Linked DNA regions of Homo sapiens: all the other regions are linked to region 2. Evidence: promoter capture Hi-C in 16 types of primary human blood cells and fetal thymus (Javierre and others, 2016). All regions are on one chromosome and are shown on one strand. The core of a region is centred on a gene start or on the middle of the fragment in contact, and the rest is flanking DNA. Distances in the headings are between cores, read along the strand shown. Region 1 holds the start of PPP4R2 (protein phosphatase 4 regulatory subunit 2). Region 2 holds the start of KBTBD8 (kelch repeat and BTB domain containing 8). Region 3 holds the start of FHIT (fragile histidine triad diadenosine triphosphatase).

The links. Contacts are between HindIII fragments. The CHiCAGO score rates a contact against its expected background, and 5 or more counts as called.
Region 1: the fragment with the promoter of PPP4R2 here is called in contact with the fragment with the promoter of KBTBD8 in region 2 in 3 of 17 cell types (total B cells, total CD4 T cells and fetal thymus); the score reaches 5.8 in total B cells.
Region 3: the fragment with the promoter of FHIT here is called in contact with the fragment with the promoter of KBTBD8 in region 2 in 1 of 17 cell types (fetal thymus); the score reaches 8.8 in fetal thymus.

What each region holds. Positions count from the first base shown.
Region 1 is chr3:72,995,430-72,998,129 of GRCh38, forward strand. PPP4R2 (protein phosphatase 4 regulatory subunit 2) reads left to right here and starts at 1,382. Exons shown (of 9, transcript NM_174907.4): 1 at 1,382-1,642; 2 at 2,648-2,700. The coding sequence starts at 1,609. It overlaps LOC124909395 (a long non-coding RNA gene), which reads right to left and starts at 1,762. Exons shown (of 2, transcript XR_007095961.1): 1 at 1,678-1,762. RefSeq lists enhancers at 1,007-1,056, 2,317-2,366 and a silencer at 1,237-1,866. The HindIII fragment of the contact is 5,282 bases long and covers 1-2,700 here.
Region 2 is chr3:66,996,895-66,999,594 of GRCh38, forward strand. It overlaps KBTBD8 (kelch repeat and BTB domain containing 8), which reads left to right and starts at 1,413. Exons shown (of 4, transcript NM_032505.3): 1 at 1,413-1,477; 2 at 2,087-2,297. The coding sequence starts at 1,462. RefSeq lists an enhancer at 1,071-1,170 and a silencer at 1,511-1,830. The HindIII fragment of the contact is 2,180 bases long and covers 1,377-2,700 here.
Region 3 is chr3:61,250,051-61,252,750 of GRCh38, forward strand. It overlaps FHIT (fragile histidine triad diadenosine triphosphatase), which reads right to left and starts at 1,402. Exons shown (of 10, transcript NM_002012.4): 1 at 1,251-1,402. LOC124909387 (a long non-coding RNA gene) reads left to right here and starts at 1,542. Exons shown (of 2, transcript XR_007095939.1): 1 at 1,542-1,577. RefSeq lists enhancers at 1-270, 551-680, 821-950, 1,081-1,140, 1,205-1,499. The HindIII fragment of the contact is 4,935 bases long and covers 1-2,700 here.

The DNA of each region.
Region 1 (2,700 bases), core at 132-2,631, 6.0 Mb after region 2:
TGAGTATAAAAATGTCCACGCACTGGCTGGGAGCCAGATGATTTGGGTTCTGGGTTCTAGTTCTGTCTCCCCAGACTTGCTGTCTGTGACACAGCTTTCCCATTTGTAAAATGTCAGGGCTGCAGAGGACTTCTGAGGTTTCCGCCCTCTCCTACCTCCTGGGAGATTATGTCATGTAATAATGCTAACAGTGGTAATAAAAACCCAGCCACGTTGAGTGTTCCAGGTTTCACGCACTGTGCCAAATGTTTCACATTTGCCATTTCACTCAATCCTCGTGGCCGTTTTACAACCCTCATTTTATAAATAAGAACCCTGAAGCTGCCTGAGTTTAGGTAACTACTTCAGGGCCACACAAGGAGTAAGTAGTTGAGTTGGGATTTGAATATTGATTCCAAACCTTGAGCTCTTAATGACTTTGCTGTATACATTACTTCTTGCCACAGGTGGGCCAGTGACGAACGAACGTTGGGTTAAGCAGGGAGGTATTCTTGTTAGGATTATTAGCAATGCTTAGTGTATGTATGTATTGTTAATTTTATTATTATTTTTTTGAAACAGTCTCGCTTTGTCGCCTAGGCTGGAGGCAGTGGCGCGATATCGGCTCACTGCAACCTCCGCCTCCTGGATTCAAGCGATTCTCGTGCCTCAGCCTCCCGAGTAACTGGGATTACAGGCACGAGCGACCACGCCCGACTACATTTTGTATTTTTAGTAGAGACGGGGTTTCGCCATGTTGGCCAGGTTGGTCTTCAACTCCTGACTTCAGGTGCTCCGCCCGCCCCAGCCTCCCAAAGTGCTGGGATTACAGGCTTGAGTCACCGCGCCCGGCCTGTATTTATTTTTATATAGAGAAGGGCGAGGGAGCGGGGTCATTTTGTTACCCAGACTGGTCTCGAACTCCTGGGCTCAAGCGATCCTCTCGCCTCGGCCTCCCTCCCAAAGTGTTGGGATCACCGGCCTGAGCCCCCTGCCCGGCCTCGCTCTACGTTTTTTAGGCGCATTCTGAACGTGAAGTGTATACACTGAATTCTCACAGCAACTGCATAGGGCATCAGTACCAGTGCCCTTACTGTACAGATGGGGAAAATGAGGCTCAGACAGGCGAAGTAAGTAGCTTAAGTTCACACAGAGAGGAAATGGCAGGGATTCAAAGCCTAGGAGTCCGCCTGCAACCCTCTCGCCTGACCGTCCAGTCTTCAGCTCCGCGGAGCCTGGGCCTGGGGCTGGGGCTGGGGCTGAGGCTCTGGAAGCCGCCGGGACGCAGACGCCACTGGGCCCCAGCGTCACACCTCGGCCGCGCACGCGCTCTCGGGTTCCGGGCCGGAGCGCGCGGCGGGAGCGAGGACGGCGGCAGGGAGCGTGCGCGCGGTGACGTACCGGGCGCCATGTTGGAGGGTTGGTGGTAGCGGCTTGGGGAGGTGCTCGCTCTGTCGGTCTTGCTCTCTCGCACGCTTCCCCCGGCTCCCTTCGTTTCCCCCCCCCGGTCGCCTGCGTGCCGGAGTGTGTGCGAGGGAGGGGGAGGGCGTCGGGGGGGTGGGGGGAGGCGTTCCGGTCCCCAAGAGACCCGCGGAGGGAGGCGGAGGCTGTGAGGGACTCCGGGAAGCCATGGACGTCGAGAGGCTCCAGGAGGCGCTGAAAGGTGGGGGTAGCTGCCCCCTCTCCATTCCCCCTCACCTTCTCCGGCTCGCTCTTCTCTCCTTTCAGGGCGGATGGTTCCGAGGACCGGGGCCGGGCGCGGCGTGGGGAGAGTGCTTCCCGGGCTCCCATCCCCCTCCACCTCCCCAGGGGCGGGGAGCCCTGTGGGCAGCTCTCTCCCGCCCCGCTCTGGCTTTGTGTCGGCCGCCGGCGTCTGGGCTGGGGGAGGGGAGCCGGGGAAACTCTTGCGGGGGCCCCAGTCTTTCTCCCACCCGTTCAGGGGACGAGTGGCGGACCCGCAGACCCCTCCCTCCCAGATATCCTCTTTTCTCCACCAGGCTACCCGTACGCTAGGCGTTGGGGTGGGAGAAAAAGTAAACGGTTGGTGGGGGCGGGGGTAGGGGGTAGCATCGCAACTTTTAAGTTGTCTCAGTATGCCTTTTTCAGGGCTTTTGAAGTCATCTTTCCGCGCCCTAATTTCGAGGTGGTTGCCTTCACTGTTCTTGATTGCACGCCTTCCACGCAACAGGCTTGAGAACAGTGGCTTACAAACTTCGAGTAGAGAGATTTCAGCGTTTTGAGAATTATTCTTTGACATTCAGAATCATTTGGGGACGGCAACTTGGGGTAGTTGGTGCTTCTTAGAAAGGCAGATTTATGGACTTAGATGAACAATTGGTGGGAGTCGGGGCCTGGGGATTTTTATTTTCACTGGATTCCCAGCTTAATATAATGCTGGTGTTCCCCCGGACCACACTTCGAGAAGCACTGCGTTAAAAATGGTTTGTGAAGTTGAGTGCCCCCTTTAGGAGGATTCTTGTTATCTGTAAAGAGGGTGACATGTTGGAAGTAGAACTTGGAGGATTGAGGTGGTAATTTGGTTGAGAGGCCTTATTTTTTTAATTTTGTATTTAATTGATTTTTAATAAGGTAAAGGACTAGGAGGAAAGTTTGTTTTTAGAGCGCTTTTGAGAAAACTGATAACGTTTTTTTTTCTTCCTTCATCTAGATTTTGAGAAGAGGGGGAAAAAGGAAGTTTGTCCTGTCCTGGATCAGTTTCTT
Region 2 (2,700 bases), core at 163-2,662:
CCTGTTAACTTGCATGGGATTATAGTATTTTAAGTTCTAAATTTCTCAGCAGACCTAGAAGACAGAACTGAATTGTTTTTCATAATTATTTCTCTTTCTCAATCACAATTTAAATTCCAAGATCCTTTCTTTATCAAGAAGTTCAACGGTTTGATCTTTTCAGTGCTAGAAAAGTTATGCACACGGGCTAACTATATGTCTACTAGAAATTCTTCCCATTCGCTGATACTTCCTTACATTTTAACATCTAGAAATAGCATTCCCAATGTTAGCTCATTTGCACCTTACATTTATTTTTAAAATATGAAACATCTATAATGTGCCAGGCACCCCGTTAGATGTTAGAAACACAAGATGAGTAAATAAAAATTCGTCAACAGTAAAATTTTGATTTTCTTTCCAAAAGGTTGCAGCCTATGAAATCCATGGAGTACGGATTACTATTACTTCACGTTACAGATGAAGGATCTAAGCGCTCAGGGGTTGAAAGGTCTTATGTCAGTTCTCACATATAGTGACTAAAGAGCCAGGGCTTCAGTAATCATCCCTGGCTCCGGGCTCAGGGCATTCCGGTATTTTTTCAAAGGAAATTCCGGAATACTTAGTATTGTATCCCCTCCATTTCCCAAGAGCAAAAAGTAAAGCATCTTGGATCCCCTTGTAATGTTCACGTGAGGAACAGGTGTTCTCTGGGTGTGCTAGAAAAGCAAGGCACCAGTGGGAGTTGAAGATCCTAAGCAGCCGCTGTAACCAGACCAAGTTAATCTGTGGAAACCAGAGCACCCGGCCAAGGCGATGCTATTTCAATTGGGTGTCATAGGTGACTCATCAGAGACGCCTTGCTTTTGGGCCTTGTGATATTTTTCTTCAGGGTGGGACGTCAGATTTCCTTTGCATTTTTGGACAACAGCCCTCCTGTCCATTTCCACATTTTTCTGGTTTTACAGCTCTCACGCAGAGCTTGATTTCATACCGGAAGCTAGTCACTGGCAGGAAGTTTACGGAAGAAGAAAAAGGTAAAAAAATGTGCCGGGGGCCAGGAGAGAGGCCTAAAATGGGGAAATTCGCACTTGAAGAGCTTTCCCTACCCCAGCCCCTCAGAATGACAGTTCTCCTCCGCCAGAAGACTACCTCTCCCGGCAGGCACTGCGCGCTCGACGGCCACAGGCTGGCCAGCTCCCTGCTCTCCACCTCCATCCGAATCAGCCAATAGGAATTCCCGGCTTGGGCCTCCGCCCGACCCGGACCACGCGGGAGCCGGGGCAATCAAACTACATTTCCCGACACGCATGTGCTCGCGTCGTGGCCAATCAGCGCCAGGAATTCGGAGGCTAGGGGTGGAGCCAGATGCACAGGACACCCCATTGGCCAGGGGAAGCTTAGAAGAGCCGGAACCCGGGAGCTAGAGAAGCGAAATGACATTTCCTTTTTAAATAGCTGGAGTCGGGGCCCCATCGAGAAATGGCCGCGTCGGCAGGTGGGTCGTGTGGTGGCCAGGGCGGCGTGGAGGGAGGTGAGGGGGAAGGTGGGCCGGGGCCGGCCACAGGCAGTGGGATGAGGACGTAGCGGTGCGGAGCTAGAGGGAAGGATGAAGCGGTGGAGGGGAATGAGAAGAGGGAGGATGAATGGTGCGGAGGGCGGTGGGCGGTCCGGCGGGACCGGGATGGGGAGGCTGGGTACCCGCCGGCGCTGCGCCCCAGGAGGCAGCGGGAGGCGGCTTGAGGGGGCACCGGCGGCCGCCGTTGTTCGAGCTTCCCTCGTGAGGCTCTGCCCTCGGCTCTCGGCGGAGTCCGCGCAGACGCCTCTCCTGGGCTGCGAGCGCGTTTCCTCCGCGAGCACGGGTGCCGGGCTCGCCGGGCTCCGCAGGAGCAGGCTGGCCTTTGAACTTGTTCCGCCGATCGCGCTCCGCCCTCTGTCTCCCAGATCCTTAACTCGCGGTCCCACGAGGTCGTGCGTATATCCACAGACATTTGTATATATCTTGTAGGGGGAAAAAGCCTAGCAAGCAGACACACAAACAGAAAAATCCCGCGATGCCGTAACTGGCTCGGCACTTCTTGTAGTTGTACGATTTTTCTCCTCCTAGATTTAAGTAAGTCTTCCCCAACACCGAATGGGATTCCATCTTCAGACCCAGCCAGCGATGCCATGGACCCCTTCCATGCTTGCAGTATTCTTAAGCAACTCAAAACAATGTACGATGAAGGACAGTTGACAGACATTGTAGTGGAAGTGGATCACGGGAAAACATTTTCCTGTCATAGAAACGTTCTTGCTGCAATCAGCCCTTACTTCAGGTATGATGATGGTAGGAACTTCTGTTGGTATCTGCACCAAGCTCCCTTTCCCCCTCAGTATTGTCCACTTGATGTTTATATTGAGATGCGATAATGAAATGAAACCAATGACTTTGTTTCTTGAGACTAGAAAACAAGTCCTCTCTTAACTAAGACCTTCTTTTGACTTGAGGGATTCTTCTAGATTTCGGGTGATTGCTTTTTAAGTTAGTGGGCCTGTGTGTGTGTGTTTGAGGTAAATGACCAGAAAATCTAGACTTGTGCTGGTCAGTATGGAAGCCAGTAGCCATGTGTGGCTGTTTAAACTTAAATTATAAGTTAAATAAAATAAAACATTTAGTTCCCCAGGTACACTAAATACTTTTTGAGTGCTTGCTGGTCACCTGCAGCTAGTGGCTGCCAT
Region 3 (2,700 bases), core at 152-2,651, 5.7 Mb before region 2:
GCCGGCAGCCATGAACGCAGGTCCACATGGGAGTTGTAGTTCCGAGTCAAGCGGCTGCTCTACAGAACGGCTAGAAGCGAGACTTCGTCTCCCAGGAGACATCTCGCCGTGCAAAATGGCACGCCACGAGGTGGAGTACCTGCCCGACGAGAAACAAGAGGCGGGACTGCAACTCCCAGAAGCCTCCGCGGCCAAGGCCTCAGGCCGCAGGCTGAAGCCAAGGAGGGAGAGTTCAGGTAGATCCGGCTTAACATCAGGTGCGAGTAGGGACCACCCTTGGTAGTCTGGGCCCGGCCCAGGTCAGAACCTTACTAAAACAACCACTGTGAGTATTTTCTATTGGTCCCAGCACATTTCTGAGAGACCAGAATAATAATAGCAGTAAATCTGCAAGTGGTAAACTTTCACAAGCATAACCTCAATTTAGATTTCGGCTTCAGGCAACATCCTTTGGCCACTTGACCTGGGAGCATTGAGCTCCTTGTTTCCCAGATAAGCGCTGTGAGTGGCTGTTCCAAGGTAACACAGCGAGGGCAGAATGTGAGCCTACAGAGAAATCTGCAGATGCATCTCAAGTTCCACTAACCTGCCTCCTTACCCCCCACCACCACCAACTTGGATATACCTTTAAAATTCCCCCCTTTGACGCTAAAAATAAAAACAACAACCATAAAATAAGTGTAAGAAAGTCCGACCAAGTACCGATGAGTTCTCCCACAACAATAAATTCGATGCCTCTTTGCCTGTTTTTGAAGTAGTAATGTAAAATTATCTCCCAAAATGCTGCCTTCTCTATACTCCGGTTTGCTCCTGTCCTGGGCACGTGTTCAGCAACCCCTTAGGGGAATCCAGAGCTGCGTGTTTAACACAGACCTGTTGGGACGGATTTTCGCTACTTGTCTATGAAACTGACGAACCATCCCAAAACGGCGGGTGCCGACTACACCCCCAGAGCCAAGAGCTGTGGCGTCCCCGGACCCGCTGGCGTGGCCCCGTGCCTCAGTTTCCCCAATGTATAAACACGGTGGAGGAGGAACGGGTTAGGGCTAGGGTCGGTGCTTGGGAATTGGGGGGCCCGAGTCCCCACCCTGAGACCCTCGTGGGGCGGAAGAGTACTCGGGACAGAAGCCCACCGCCCCGTGAGCGGCGCCGGCCCCACTGGGCTCCGGGGTGATGACCTGACGCGCGTGGAAACCCAGACCCGCGCCCCAGAAACAGTATTCCACTTGGGCTTGCCTCCCCGCCCCTACCTTCCAGGATGTTGACAGCTGGGAATGAAAGGCAGAGGGAGGGAGCGCGGGGCCGGAGCGCCGCCTGGGAGTGTGCCCACTGGGTGGCCGCCTGAGGGACCCGGGAACAGAGGGCAAAAAGTCCTGTGACCGGACAGAGCAGAGCGGGGACTGCAATTCCCAGAAGACCCCACGGTAGGGGCGGGACCCAAGATGGCCGCTTGTCTGGGGACAGGAGCGGAGGCCAATACGCGCAGAGCATGCGCCTACGCCGGGCCAATTGAAAGCCATAGTGACAGTAACCCTGATTCAGGGGCGGGAAACACTGACCACAGAAGACAAGTTGAGGTGAGAATCCCCTTACAAGGGGGTTTGGGGCATAAATCGCACAATCTTTGGCTTTTTCTAACTAGAAAAAGAAACATGATTCTTTTCACGTGTAACGAAAGGCTGTACCGCACTTTTGCTTTTTTCTTTCCTCCCAAAACGCGTTTAACTATCCCTTCACGACTTCCCACTGGCTGGATTTCTTTTCGTTTCATTTCCCCACTCTGGATCTTTCTGGATTCCTTAAGCCTTCTTTTCTTTATGTGTCTCTCAGAAACACAGACTTGCAGTCCCTGGCTTGATCCATCAAATAATGTGGTCATTTACGACTACGCTCAGCCCTCCCTGGCATCCTAACAAAATTGCACCACATGCGCCCCTTCTCTTTTCCTTTCTGTCTTTTCTGTGCTGTTTTTCTCCTTAGCATTTGTCGTTACGAAGCATTGTATAAAATTTACGTATTTATCTTTTTTACCATCTTACTTTCTCACTAGAATGCAAGATCCCTGCAGATGTGGATTTTTGTTTTGGTCACTGTAGTCTTTCTAGCACCTAGAAAAGTGCCCAGCACATAGTAAATACACCGTATTTTCAATAATTGAACGAAATCTAGAGTGACCTTTCTCCCCTAGTCTCCCTTTCTCTGGTGCAGATCAACCCGTTTCTGACCACCATGGTTCCTTGTGCTTGTTCCCCTGTTTAATCCAAAATCATTATTGATGTATTCTGTGCCAAATGCCATGTGGGTGCTGGAGAAATCATTGATTCAGACCCAATTCCTAACCTCAAAATGCTCTGTCTAGTGACGTATGAAAAGTAAAATTAATTTTACAATAAATGCAATTACAAATTGCAGAACACCTACGTAATTTTCACAAGGTCATGCAGCTCCTAAGCAAGGACTAGATTCCTGGCTGCAGACTCTTGCCATTACATCGGGAAAAACAAAGAGCAGTTTTCTCTCAGACAAACACTAAGATAGGTCCCCATTTTCCTTAGCACCATTTCCTTTCTCTGTCTCTCACTTTTTTATTTGGCCTGATTCATTACATGCAGGCAATTACATCAAGTCTTAGATCTCTCATTATTTCTAATATTTGAATCCCATGGAGAGTAGCAAGGTGTCCTACAAAGTGTCCTGGTG